Regions from separate parts of the Homo sapiens genome. Here regions 1 and 2 are each linked to region 3. The links are contacts of gene promoters, found by promoter capture Hi-C in blood cells and fetal thymus (Javierre and others, 2016). All regions are on one chromosome and are shown on one strand. The core of a region is centred on a gene start or on the middle of the fragment in contact, and the rest is flanking DNA. Distances in the headings are between cores, read along the strand shown.

Region 1 (4,471 bases), core at 966-3,465, 340 kb before region 3:
GCCTCAGCCTCCCAAGTAGCTGGGACTACAGGCACCCGCCACTGCGCCCGGCTAATTTTTTGTATTTTTAGTAGAGACGGAGTTTCACCGTGTTAGCCAGGATGGTCTCGATCTCCTGACCTCATGATCTGCCCGCCTCGGCCTCCCAAAGTGCTGGGATTACAGGCGTGAGCCACCGTGCCCGGCCTGGTTTGGTTTTAAGTATTCCTTTAAGTTGCTGGTTTGGTTATAGAGCGAAGTATTGCTTTTATTTTTTTGTTTGTTTGAGACAGAGTTTTTGCTCTTGTTGCCCAGGCTGGAGTGCAGTGGTGTGATCTTGGCTAACTGCAACCTCCGCCTCCCGGGTTCAAGCAATTCTCCTGCCTCAGCCTCCTAAGTACCTAGGATTACAGGTGTGTGCCACCACATCCAGCTAATTTTGTATTTTTAGTAGAGACAGGGTTTCACCATGTTGGTCAGGCTGGTCACGAACTCCTGATCTCAAGTGATCCACCCGCCTCTGCCTCCCAAAGTGTTGAGATTACAGGCTTTAGCCACTGTGCCCAGCCTGAAATATTGCGTTTAAAAAAGACATTGAAAATAGCTGGGCGTGGTGGCATGCGCCTGTAATCCCAGCTACTCCGGAGGCCGAAGCAGGAGAATCACTTGAACCTGGGAGGCAGAGGTTGCAGTGAGCCGAGATTGCACCATTGCACTCCAGCCTGGGCGACAGAGCAAGAGCAAGACTCCCTCTCTAAATAAACAAACAAACAAACTGAATAGAAAATGTACAAAGTTGTTTTGGGGAAGGGTCTGCAGGATTATGTGTTATATTTGTGGCTCTAGAGTTGATAAAACATGGACTGAATTGATAAGGAAGTATGAGATATTTTGAGAAAAAAACCTTAAATCATGACTTAGACGTAACTAAGAAGTGGTACCAGGGCAAGGTTCCCTTTTGGAATTCTGCTTAATAATTGGAGGAGTAAACTAACTCTACGCCTCCTTGCCCCCAGATAGTTATTGACGCCGTCAAACCGTATTGCAGAGACGGAGAAGACATCTGGAAAGCCTCACGCTTCCGGATAATCATCACCACATGCAGCAGCTCAGGGCTGTTTTACCAAATAGGAGTGAGGTGAGCCCCGGGCATGGAGCGCGGCATGGGGCCTCCCAGGGCAGAGGTCGGAGTCCTCTCCTAGCTTCTGTCTGAGGGGCGGATGACCCAGAGACTCAGTGCTCAGGGAGGGAGGCAGGGCTGTGGGCGAGAAAGGCTGGTTGGGGAGGGCCGTGCCTGAATGGAGCTGGGGAAGCCGAGACCCCAAGGACTCGAAGGAGCCAGCAGTGGGATGGGCAGGCAGATGGACTGGCCCATGCAGAGGCCCCGCGGTGGGGGAGCACTGAGGTCTCCCCAAAGGAGACTGTAGAGCCAGAGCCTCGTGAGCAGGAACGGCCTGAAAGGGGTGGTGAGGGGGAGGCCTGGCGGGCTGTGGAGGGGCCTTTGGACGACCTCTGGTGAGCCGGGAAGCCAGTGAAGGGCTTCTGAGCAGGAGAGTGAGTCTCTTGGAGTGGGCGTGGGGAGGCAGGCTGCCTAGGAAACGGCTGGGCTCTGTAAGGTCAGACCCTGGGGGCCATTTGTGTCCCTGGCGCTGGGGGCTCTTCAGGGGAGACAGGCGGAGGAGATGGATTGTGGGGTGCCGGCTGTCATAGGAGGACCTCCCCTGGGGGCTGGGAGGAAGAGCTTCGAGCCCAGGGAGGCTGAGTGAGGACCAAGGCACTCTCAGACCCCAGTGCAGGGGGGTGGGGTCGGGGAGGCAGCAGGCAGCTCCCTCTCAGTGCATAGAGCCAGACAGTGTCGGGGGCACAGGCTGAGGGTGAGAGAGGGAGAAGCCAGGGCCTCTGAGGGAAGCCCCACCCTCCCTGACGGCCTGGAGACAGGTCGCTCTGAACAGTGTCCAGCGTCACAGTGGTCGTGACCCTCCCTGACAGCCTGGAGACAGGTCACCCTGGACAGTGTCCAGCGTCACGGTGGTCGTGAGGGTGACCACAGGAGGTGGTCCGTCAGCTCCACATGGAGCAAAGGCACAGCCAGCCACGCCTATCACAGCGTGTCACGGATGGTTTCATCGGCGCGTTTAACTCTCTCACATACATGATGTCCTTTCATCATGAGATTAGTAGAACGTGATTGATGAGACACTTTACATTTTTTTTGGTTCAAGTCTTCAAAATCCACCATGTATTTTACACTTAGAGCATGTCAGGTTTCAGACTAGCCACTGTGCGGTGCCCGAGAGCCGTGTGTGGCTACCGGATTGGACAGCACGGATCTGAACAAGACAGGGATTTTTTTTGTTAATGTGTGTTGATGAGTCAAAGGTCAAGAGCCGAAGAGCCAGTCCTCACTGGGGTGCAGAGGGCTCTTTGGGGGCAGAGCGGGCACTGCATGGACCCTGCACCCTGGAGCTGATGTTCAGGTAGTGGGAGGAGGTGGCCGGCCAGGGCAGGCCGCTCTCTCAGAGGCACTCTGTGCAGAAGCAGGGAGGGTGCTGCAGGCCGCTCTCTCAGAGGCGCTCTGTGCAGAAGCAGGGAGGGTGCTGCAGGCCGCTCTCTCAGAGGCGCTCTGTGCAGAAGCAGGGAGGGTGCTGCAGGCCGCTCTCTCAGAGGCGCTCTGTGCAGAAGCAGGGAGGGTGCTGCAGGCCGCTCTCTCAGAGGCGCTCTGTGCAGAAGCAGGGAGGGTGCTGCAGGCCGCTCTCTCAGAGGCGCTCTGTGCAGAAGCAGGGAGGGTGCTGCAGGCCGCTCTCTCAGAGGCGCTCTGTGCAGAAGCAGGGAGGGTGCTGCAGGCCGCTCTCTCAGAGGCGCTCTGTGCAGAAGCAGGGAGGGTGCTGCAGGCCGCTCTCTCAGAGGCGCTCTGTGCAGAAGCAGGGAGGGTGCTGCAGCCCAGCTGCAGAGGCCCCACAGCGTTAGTTGGCCACTGGGGGCGGCTGGAGTGGGGAGGGGCACTTCAAAGGGCAAAGAAGTAGCAATGTCATCTGGCAAAAGTGACATTAAATAACTGCAATTAATACAGAATTGAAACCTAAATACTTACATTCTAGGAAAGATACATAATGTTAATTTTTTTCAACAGAAATAGGGACATGAGATGGGGAAATGGCAGTTTGCTGATTTCCACATCTTTCACTGGGAGGGGTTCACGGTGTCACTTGTGAAATCCGTGTCTTGAGAGTTACACATTGATACCTGAAGTGAAAGGTGTCAGCTGACCGTGAGTGGATGCAGGACATGTTGGGCCCAGCACTGCTGTAAGCAGGAGCCCGCCCCCGCACAGGTCTGACCACAGGGTCTCACCCCACAGTGGGACACCTGAGGCTCAGAGGTGATGGATTTGCCCAGCATCTAGGGTTGGAGAGGGGAGATCCTGGAATCAGCAGTGAGAAGGGTAAACGTGGGCTCGGCAGTGAGGACGGTGCGGGCCCAAGGTGCGTCCTGTTGAGTGTTGGCGTGGCTCCGGACACTCTCTCTGCCCCATACCTGCTTCCTCAGGCATCAGGACATGTTTCTGCCCCAAGAGCATTTCCCCACTGAGGCCTCCTGACCACAGAGCAGAAGCTGCTGGGGTGGGCGAGCCAGGGAAGCCGGGGCACCTGTTCCTCAGCTCATGGCCCCAGGTGGGGTGGCCCCTCTGCACTCTAGAAACAGATCATGTGCCGAGCGAGCTCCTGCTCTCCGCTCAGTCCCACAGCCTTCCCATGCAAGAGTTCCGCAGCTTCTCCTGACGACTCCTTCCCGCAAAATCCCCACCCCGTCCATCAGCAACGCTGTGGACTCTCTGCTCCTGCACCTCCCTTACCTCCCTTGTCACACGGAGAAGGAAGAGCCGGACAGGTACCCGCCAGGAGGGCTGCTCTGTAGCTGGGAACCTCACTGAGTTTGCAGCAGGGGCCAGAATTGTGGGGAGCCATTCTAGAGACCGCATTTTCTTTTTTTCTTTTTTTTTTTTTTTTATGAGATGGAGTCTTGCTCTGTCACCCAAGCTGGAGTGCAGTGGCGCGATCTCAGCTCACTGCAAGCTCCGCCTCCCAGGTTCACGCCATTCTCCTGCCTCAGCTTCCCGAGTAGCTGGGACTACAGGCGCCCGCCACCACACCCGGCTAATTTTTTTGTATTTTGAGTAGAGACGGGGTTTCACCGTGTTAGCCAGGATGGTCTTGATCTCCTGACCTCGTGATCCACCCATCTCGGCCTCCCAAAGTGCTGGCATTACAGGCGTGAGCCACTGCGCCCGACCAACCCCATTTTCTTAATGGTGCCGCAGATTGGGAAGTGGCTCCCAGGGCCTCAGCCTATTGGCATGCAGGCCAGGCAGTGCCCAGCTGAGAGTGGCTCACAAGGATGAGTCAGGAGGAAATGAGCGGATGGCAGGAGAGGCTGCCATCTGTGGCCGCCTGCATGGCCAGGCCTGTTCTCAGCGCTTTACAGCGGCCAGTTC
Region 2 (4,757 bases), core at 703-3,202, 320 kb before region 3:
TCAAAGACAGGCTGGCTCTAGAACGTGCTCTAGCCTGCCCTCCCCTGCTCCCCTCACCCCCATCCACTTACCCACCTGCAGCCTTAGCCCTCTGCCGGCCACCGTCCTCACCTCATCCTGGGCTGCAGCAGCCACTGTTTCCTGGACATTTGGGGTCATGTCACCTTTCCCACATAGGCTAACAGGGTAAACTAAGTCCCCTTGTAAAACCCACATTGGGAAAAGAGTGCAGCTCCCAGCCCGCTGTGGGAGCCTGGCTCACTGGCCATCCGCTTCTCCTCTGTCTACAGCTGTGGCGAGGGGGTGGCAGACCCCTCCTACCCAGTGGTGCCAGAATCCACAGGACCAGAGAAGCATCAGGAGCCCAGCTGATCTGCAGTGGCTGACAGCAGGGAGGCCATGTGCTCAGCCTGGCCACGTTGCCGTTACAGTCTGCTCCGTGGCTCCTGTGGCCTGCCCTTGTCTCGCAGCCAGGCAGGGTCGTGTGTGGGTGTGGGGCTGCCAGGTTGGACGCAGCTGCTGCTGCCCTGACTTTGGCATATGCCAGCCTGTTCCTGCCACAGGGCAGTCACTGCCGCCTACCCTGAAATAAACCCTCGAGTGACCCCCAGAAGCCTTTCCACCTCGAGATGTGTGCCCGTGTCAGTGGTGACCAGGGTTTCATGTGGCCTCTCAGCCCTGCTGGCGCAGTTTTTGGAGATGGCTTGCTGTCCACTTCACCTGAACTAGCCGTGTGTCAGGCTCCAGGCAAGGCTGCCAGCTCCACTCAGCAGAGCGCCAGGGCCATGGACCAGGCATGCAGAGCCCACAGGGCCTGAGGCTCTACATGGGGCCAGGGTTGTGAGGGTGGCACTCAGGCCTGCCCTAGGCCCAGTGCTTCTGGGAGTTTGCAGCTGGGCGGGTTCCTGGGTGCAGGCCTGCACCCTAGGGGTACTGAGTTTAGGGGTCCTTAGAACACATCTCTGGGCCAGAAATAAAACACGTGGAGATGGGCAACGCACCTCAGGCCAGGAGGAGCAGAGCAGTGGCAGGAAGAACACTTGGGGTGAGCCCCGCACTGTCCTCAGCCTGGTGCAGGGTCTCAGTACAGCAGCCCGGCTGGAACACAGGACCCCCAGGCTCGGAGATGCCGCCTGCATACACCCAGGGCCCCAGAGGAGGCCAACACCGCTTTACGGGGGGTCTTACCTGGCCTATGCCCCCATCCCCACAGCGAGACACAGACCAGCAGCCGACTAGAAGGGTGCAGGCTTGGCCCACCTCAAAGTTTGGGAGCCTTGCCCTGCACCCTCCCCCACCCCCTCCCCCACGACTTGCTCCCAGGAAACAAATGCTCAGTGTCTCCACTTAGAGGTAGCGTCTGCTTGGCAAGCAGAAACCACTGTCTCCTGAAGGTCTCAAGACACCAGGGATCATGTCTGTTTACTAAACTTGTGGGTGATGCTAAGATCTGTGGTCACAACTCCAGGGAGTACTTGATGTAGGAGGAAGCACTTTCCAGACAGGCGGCGTCATGTCAGGGCCCAGGACTGCATGCGGCATCACCTGCTGTGGCTTCTGCATGAGTTGTGTTTAGGAACTGAAGGGTTTCTCCAGGCAGAGCTGTCATTGCTGTGCTAAGGGGTGCGTGGAGGCCCAGGCAGAGCCCCCATGCGTGGAGGCCGCTGTGCCCAGTGCTCCTGCAGCCAGCGTTTGCTGGACTCTCTCTGCAGAGCAGAAGTCCTAGGGCAAGGACCTCTCCATCCTGTCAACCCCAAATCGAAGGGATGCCCCCCACGGAGGCTGGGGACTTTTCTGACCCAGGTGAGGGGATCATTGGGGTCAGCCCTGACACTGAGAGGCCACCTCTCTGGGCTCAGTGACCTGGATGTCCTGGCAGGTGGGAGAGACGCAAGAAGCAGGTGTGGGGTCCACACTTGAGGGAGTGCTCTTGGGCAGAGACGTGGGGAGCCAGTGTTGAGGCTGGGCAGGTGTCCTCAGCTGGGGGACACCTCAGCAATGATCTGGCGTGTGCCCAGGGTGGCAGGAGACCAGGCGGGGTCATTCTATAAAGGACTCGGGGCACCTGTTTGCTGGTGCAAGAGTGGCAGGGAGGCTGTCAGGTGACAGGGAGGGAGGGGAAGAGAAGGAGGTCAGTGAGGAGGCTGCCCTGGAGGGGCCCAGGCTACAGGGAAGGCAGCACTGCTCAGCCAGCCATGAATCCCTGCAAAGCAAGGCAAGGGAAGCAAAGGCAAGTGGGGCCTGCAGGCAGGTGTCGTCTGCACAGGATTTGGGGCTTTTTTTAAGACAGGGTCTTGCTCTGTTGCCCAGGCTGGAGTGCAGTGGCACAATCATGGCTCACTGCGTCCTCAACCTCCCAGCCTCAGGTGATCCTCCCACCTCAGCCTCCCAAATAGCTGACACTACAGGTGTACGCCATCACACCTGGCTAATTTTCTGTAGAGACAGGGTTTCGCCATGTTGCCCAGGTTGGTCTCGATTTCCTGGGCTCAAGTGTTCCACCCACCTCAACCTCCCAAGTAGTTGAGATCACAGGCGTGTGCCACCACAGCTGGCTAATTTGTTTATTATTATTTGTAGAGACGGTCTTGCTATGTTGGCCAGGCTGCTACACAGAGGTCTTAAACTTTGGTGCTTGGAGTCCCCTAAATGAAACCTTAAGGGAGTGCATCTCTTCCCTCGTTTTTTTGGTTATCTAAGATTTTTCTTCTTCACATTTTAAACGTGCTTATGATGTAAGTCACAGCTTATTATAAATCTTGCCATTTCATTTATTTTTATTTTATTTTATTTTTTTTTTTATTTATTTTTTTTTTTTTTGAGACAGAGTCTTGCTCTGTCGCCCAGGCTGGAGTGCAGTGGTGCGATCTCGGCTCACTGCAAGCTCCACCTCCCGGGTTCACACCATTCTCCTGCCTCAGCCTCCCGAGTAGCTGGGACTACAGGCGCCTGCCACAACGCCCGGCTAATTTTTTGTATTTTTAGTAGAGACGGGGTTTCACCGTGTTAGCCAGGATGGTCTCCATCTCCTGACCTGGTGATCCACCTGCCTCGGCCTCCCAAAGTGCTGGGGTTACAGGCATGAGCCACCACGCCCGGCCCAAATCTTGCCATTTTCCTTTTCAGTGTATCCAGTGCAACAAAAAATGCCATTACAGTTTGATACCATCATCCACTTAGAGGACACCAGCAAGCTGTTCTTTCACAGCTAGAAAGTTTATTTCTTCTTTTCCTTGAACTCATATTTCTATTCCACTCCCCCCCATATTTGTATCCTAATGCAAAATGTGTTAGGTTTGAAAGGTGTGGGCATCACAAATATTTTCTGTTCCTCTCCTGGGCACAGAACGGGATTTCACCCCCACCTCCCTCACCACCACAGGTGTGTAAAGCCAGTGACATCGCTGATGCGAAGGCTCTGAAGGCAGAGGGCAGCTCACCCCCCACTCCCCACCGGACACCGGGGGCGAGGGCCGCCACGTGTCAGGCTGAGGATGGCGGGACAGAGCCCCCAGTCTCCCTGTGAGCAGTGTGTGGGGCCAAACAACCTGGGCTGTTGTTGACGTCTATTACTGTGGCATGGTCTGGCCTGTCCCTACCAAACACCAGTCTCAGCGCACCCTGACAAAATACAAGCACTGAGGCTTAACATGGGAACAATCTGGCCGATTGTTATTCTTACGATTATTATAAATACCCAATCAAAATGATACGCATACATTTCCAATTTTCATAATAAACAAAAATAAAATTGAGCTAGAAATGCTTTTTTTTTTTTGAGATGGAGTTTCATTCTGTCGCCCAGGCTGGAGGGCAGTGGTGCAATCTTGGCTCACTGCAACCTCCGCCTCCTGGATTCAAGCGATTCCCCTGCCTCAGCCTCCTGAGTAGCTGGGATTACAGGCATATGCCACCATGCCTGGCTAATTTTTGTATTTTTAGTCGAGACGTGGTTTCATCATGTTGGCCAGGCTGGTCTTGAACTCCTGACCTCAAGTGATCTGCCCACCTCAGCCTCCCAAAGTGCTGGGATTATAGGCGTGAGCCACCACACCTGGCCAGAAATGCATTATTATCCGTATGGGGCTTATTTGCAAATAGTTAATGTCATCATGGGAAGATATTACTTAGGGCGGAAATGAGACAGGTTGTCAGTTTTTTTTCCTGTTTTTCATCTTCATGGATATAGAAGCTCAGAAAGCTTGTTCGCTTAAAGAGAGAGATGGGAATACAAGCTTTGCACAGCACGCATCGTCTTCAAGATCCTTCCATGTGTTGAAATCTCATGTTAATGTATCACCAAGAGAAAGAAGCAGCTGCTCCCATAATACGGGATTTGGGAAGACTGTCCTCCAGTCTGGGCCACTGGAGTGTGAAGACCGCAGGGGTGGACCCTTCACTCCTGCCACACATCCTCCTGAGGAGGGTAACAGGCTGGGCGGCCAGGGTGTCATCATGGACCTTTGCTCACCGTTCCACTCACCGGGAATGAGGATGGCAGCCAAGTTGCCGAGTTTTGAGTCCAGGCCCTGGCTCTGCCACAGGCGTTCTTCTTGTCAAGCTCCCACCGCTTCCTCTGCGAGACAGTGACTGGCCAGTGGTGCTCAACAGGCAGGCAAGATCACACCCACTCATAACCATCGTTGTTCACTGAAAAGGTGCTGTGGCCCAGATGCTGCCCCAGGCAGGGGCGTAACATGCAAAACAAATGCAGTAGGTGCAGTGGCCCAAGCCTGCAGTCCCAGCGTGGCTCACGC
Region 3 (4,460 bases), core at 287-2,786:
GATGACAGAGCAAGACTCCGTTTCAAAAAAAAAAAACCTCCTCTCTTCCTTCACACCTTCCTCTGAATCCCACCCGGTCCCACCTCCTGAACCTATCCAGACACCTTCTCCTGACCCAGGCACCACCTGCTTTCGGGGCGATGGCCGTAGCCTCCTCCCAGGCACCTGTCTGCATCCCTCTGGCCAGTGCATGCTGAGCACGTGACCTACCCGTGTTGGGACACGTGAGGATACAGCCTTGACCCCCAGGGGCTGACATTCTAGGGGGAGATAGAAGGAGACAAACGTAGAAGGTAGAATAAGTGGGTGGTGGAGTGGCAGGGAGTGCTGAGTGCCACAGGAAGTCAGACAAGGAAGGAGAGTGTGGGGCAGGTGCCGTTTAAATGGGGGGCGCTGGGGTCTCCTCACAGTTGCTTCTCAGCTCAGCTGTGCCAGGATCTTGTTGAGTCAGGTCAGCTGCCCACAGCCCTCTTGCCTGACCCCTGAAGCCCAGAACTCTGATCTTCACAGCCCTAGGTATGGCCCCAGCACCCCACTGCCCTCTCTCCTGCCCCAGCCGACTGCTGTTCCCAGACTTCCCTGGCCACGCTCCAAGACGCCAGCTCTGCCGCGGGCACTTTGTTCTCACGGTGTCCTCCATGCCTGCAGGGCCCATGCATGGGAAGTTGCGTTGGCGGCCTGGGTGTTGGCGGTTCCGTGCCTGCTCCAACTCTCCGTGAGGCCCCTCTCCCAGAGCCTGACACACTCTGTGGCCGAACTCTAGGCAGGTGCCCCTGAGTCCTTTCCTCGACGAGGCCTGACCCCATCCCCATCCTCGCTGGGCCCGCCGACCCCGGTGTTAGCAAGAATCCTCTAAATCAGTTTATGGAGAATTACCCACCCTCGATATCTGATCCCATTCCTCATCTCCCACCCTTGATCTCATCACCCTGCCGGCCTCCTGCAAGATCCTCATTGAGCCACTCCAGTGAGAATCCCCCTACCCTCGAAGGCCGCCCTAACAACTTCCCATCCGCTGACCCCTCCAACGCCATCAATCTCCAGCTGTGGTTGTTGAACTCGGAGGTGAGCTCCTCTCACCACTCTCTTGAATAAAGCTTTTCTCACCATTTTAACAAGTCCTCAGAATCATCTTTTCTTAACAAGCTCCTGCCCCACCCAGAATCACGGGGGGCCTGGGGACAAGTTTTCACCTCCTGAGATCCAGTGGGGCAGCCGGGGAAGGGGTGGTGCAGAGGGGGCGTGTGCTTGAGGGTGGGGTCTTGGGTCTGCCCCTACTTGTGGGACCCCACAGAGGGGTCTAAGGCCAGGGCCCAAGTGGGAGGCTGGGCCCACAGATAACCCTAGGCAGGTCAGCGGCTCGGGACAGGAGTGTGAGGCTGAGTCAGGGCCAGAGGATGTGGGACTGCTGGGGGCTGCTGCTGTGCTGACACATTAACTCCCTGAGGCCGGGAGGAGGGTGGATGGTCATTTATTACTGCGGACACTTATGTAACCTGGGGTGTATATAGGAGCCTGGCTGAGGACACACTCGCCAGCCTGTGCTTTGCCACCTGAGCGCCGCTCCCTCTCAGGATGAAGGTGACGGTGGTGAGTACCCAGACCCCATGCAGAGAGGCTCTGCTGACTGCTCTCCTGGTGGCCAGCCACTCCCGCCCTCTTCTAGCTGGCACTGGCCAGCCCTCCTCCTCCGTCCAGCTGGGCAAGAGCCAGCGGCTGCCGACCCCCAGGCTCCCTGTGGACTCAGTCTCCTCCCAAAGCCACTTCCACCCCTCAAGGGTGGCCATGGGTGCCGCTCAGGCGTGGTGTCCCCTGTACCCCGGAAGCAGACGTCTGCTGACTTTCGCTTTGCAGATGAGGACCTGGGAGTGAGAGCTCCTGGGACTCGCTGAGGCCAGGGCAGGGGCTGGGATGATGGCGTGGGAGAGGCTGTGTCCTCGCGTGTCACCCACCAGCCCTCGAGCAGAGGCAGGCTTGGAGTCTGCAGCCACCCTGGGAATGTCTGTGCTTCCTCGTGGAGCTGACATGATGGTGAAATAGGTTCAATCCTCCACCTACCCAGGGCCCAGACCCTTCCCTGGTCTACCGACCTGATGTGGACCCAGAGGTGGCCAAAGACAAGGCCAGCTTCCGGAACTACACGGTGAGTACCTTGCCGTCCTGCCCCCCTTCTCCCCCATCCACACCCTGGGGAGCAGCACTTGCCCTTCACACAGTTCCAGGGGGTGCCCTGTGGGAACTCCCACCCCCATCACACCCTGTGGGGCTGCCTGGGAGAGGGGAGGCATGGGGCCTCGTGTGCAGGGTGGGGGTGGCGCCACTGACCCTCCGGCCTGCAGTCAGGTCCCCTCCTGGACCGTGTCTTCACCACCTACAAGCTCATGCACACGCACCAGACAGTGGACTTCGTCAGGAGCAAGGTAGGCGTTTCCTGCCGCCCCGTGCAAACGCGGAGGGACCCTTGCCCTCAGCCCCATGAGCCCACCAGGCGCCGAGGGGATGGAGAGGCCTGTGTGGTGGGCCTGCTGACCCTGGGCCACACTGCCTTCTCCTTCCCCGCCAGCATGCCCAGTTTGGGGGCTTCTCCTACAAGAAAATGACAGTCATGGAGGCCGTGGACCTGCTGGATGGGCTGGTGGATGAGTCGGACCCGGACGTAGATTTCCCCAACTCCTTCCATGCCTTCCAGACAGCGGAGGGCATCCGGAAGGCCCACCCAGACAAGGGTGAGCCCTGGCTGTGCTGCAGGGGGGCAGGTGCTGCCTCCAAGGGGCAGAATGCAGCAGCCTGTAGGGTGGGAGGGGACAGTAGTGGGCCCAGGCCTCCTCCAGCAGCCCTGCCTGGGTTGGGGAGCAGGCCCTGGACCCTTCCTGGCTCTCAGCCCCGCAAACCTGCTCATCCTCTGCCTTGGCCCCTGCAGTCCCCAACCTGCCCTGTCCATCCCCCTCCCAGACTGGTTCCACCTCGTCGGGCTCCTGCACGACCTGGGGAAGGTCCTGGCCCTGTTCGGGGAGCCCCAGGTAAGAGTTGGAAGTGGAGGGTGAGGAGGCTGCATGTTGAGGCAAGGTGGGGGTGGAGTGGCCTTGGTGCTTGGCCTGGGATACTACCTGGGGGACAGGCCAGTGCACCCCCCACGGCCCCCCGACGGCTGCCTGTCCCTCTGGTGGCCTCGGTGCTTGGCCTGGGATACTACCTGGGGGACAGGCCAGTGCACCCCCCACGGCCCCCCCCACGGCTGCCTGTCCCTCTGGTGGCCTCGGTGCTTGGCCTGGGATACTACCTGGGGGACAGGCCAGTGCACCCCCCACGGCCTCCCCGCACCACTCCCCCCACGGCCCCCCATGGCCGCCTGTCCCTCCTGTCACTCTGCAGTGGGCGGTCGTCGGCGACACCTTCCCCCACTTCCCCCACGGCCCCCCATGGCTGCCTGTCCCTCCTGTCCCTCCTGTCCCTCCCATCCCTCCCGTCCCTCCTGTCCCTCCCGTCCCTCCCATCCCTCCTGTCCCTCTGCAGTGGGCAGTCATCGGCAACATCTTCCCCCACTCCCCCCATGGCCGCCCGTCCCTCCTGTCCCTCTGCAGTGGGCAGTCATCGGTGACACCTTCCCCCACTCCCCCCATGGCCGCCCGTCCCTCCTGTCCTTCTGCAGTGGGTGGTCATCGGCGACACCTTCCCCCACTCCCCCCATGGCCTCCCGTCCCTCCTGTCCCTCTGCAGTGGGCTGTCGTCGGCGACACCTTCCCCGTCGGATGCCGTCCGCAGGCCTCCGTGGTTTTCTGCGACTCCACCTTCCAGGACAACCCTGACCTCCAGGATCCTCGATACAGGTGCTCCCTGCTGCTGAGGGCTGGGCCCCCTTCCCTGGGCGGCTGCTGAGCCCTCCTCACCCTGGTATCTCACTGCAGCACAGAGCTCGGGATGTATCAGCCCCACTGTGGGCTCGACAGGGTCCTCATGTCCTGGGGCCATGATGGTGAGGCCAGAGGCGGGCAGTGGGGCGGTGGGGGGCGGTGGGGGACGGTGGGGGGCGGTGGGGCAGAGGCAGTGCCTGCTGGTGACACCCTCTCCCCACAGAGTACATGTACCAGGTGATGAAGTTTAACAAGTTCTCACTGCCCCCTGAGGTAGGTGGGGGGAGGGGCAACGCAGCCCGTCCACCAGGCCCGGTCCTGCAGCCCCAAGTGAGCCGCTGGGTGGCCTTGCCCGCAGGCTTTCTACATGATCCGGTTCCACTCCTTCTACCCCTGGCACACGGGCCGCGACTACCAGCAGCTGTGCAGCCAGCAGGACCTGGCCATGCTGCCCTGGGTGCGGGAGTTCAAGTACGCCCCGCTACCCGCCGAGGGGTGTTGTGGGAGTGAAAGAGGGGGTTGGGTGGGGGGCCTGGGGGTTCTTCACGGGGCTCACCGCCCCTCCCTGCTGCAGCAAGTTCGACCTCTACACCAAGTGCCCGGACCTGC

What was found. The method cuts DNA at HindIII sites, captures the fragments that hold promoters and counts their contacts. A CHiCAGO score of 5 or more calls a contact.
Region 1: a contact is called between a fragment that was not itself captured here and the fragment with the promoter of MIOX in region 3, in 5 of 17 cell types (fetal thymus, M0 macrophages, M1 macrophages and 2 more). The highest score is 7.6, in fetal thymus.
Region 2: a fragment that was not itself captured here is called in contact with the fragment with the promoter of MIOX in region 3 in 2 of 17 cell types (fetal thymus and naive CD4 T cells); the score reaches 5.3 in fetal thymus.

What each region holds. Positions count from the first base shown.
Region 1 is chr22:50,144,694-50,149,164 of GRCh38, forward strand. MOV10L1 (Mov10 like RNA helicase 1) reads left to right here. Exons shown (of 27, transcript NM_018995.3): 19 at 996-1,117. Among named protein-coding and RNA genes, the nearest start is that of PANX2, 24 kb to the right of the region's middle. The HindIII fragment of the contact is 7,030 bases long and covers 1-4,471 here.
Region 2 is chr22:50,161,078-50,165,834 of GRCh38, forward strand. It overlaps MOV10L1 (Mov10 like RNA helicase 1), which reads left to right. Exons shown (of 27, transcript NM_018995.3): 27 at 291-610. The coding sequence ends at 372. Among named protein-coding and RNA genes, the nearest start is that of PANX2, 7.3 kb to the right of the region's middle. RefSeq lists an enhancer at 4,611-4,757. The HindIII fragment of the contact is 4,494 bases long and covers 1-4,199 here.
Region 3 is chr22:50,485,323-50,489,782 of GRCh38, forward strand. It overlaps MIOX (myo-inositol oxygenase), which reads left to right and starts at 1,537. Exons shown (of 10, transcript NM_017584.6): 1 at 1,537-1,590; 2 at 2,063-2,143; 3 at 2,340-2,420; 4 at 2,564-2,726; 5 at 2,953-3,020; 6 at 3,718-3,827; 7 at 3,906-3,973; 8 at 4,075-4,124; 9 at 4,210-4,322; 10 at 4,426-4,460. The coding sequence starts at 1,576. ADM2 (adrenomedullin 2) reads left to right here. Exons shown (of 3, transcript NM_001253845.2): 3 at 1-1,115. The HindIII fragment of the contact is 4,673 bases long and covers 1,096-4,460 here.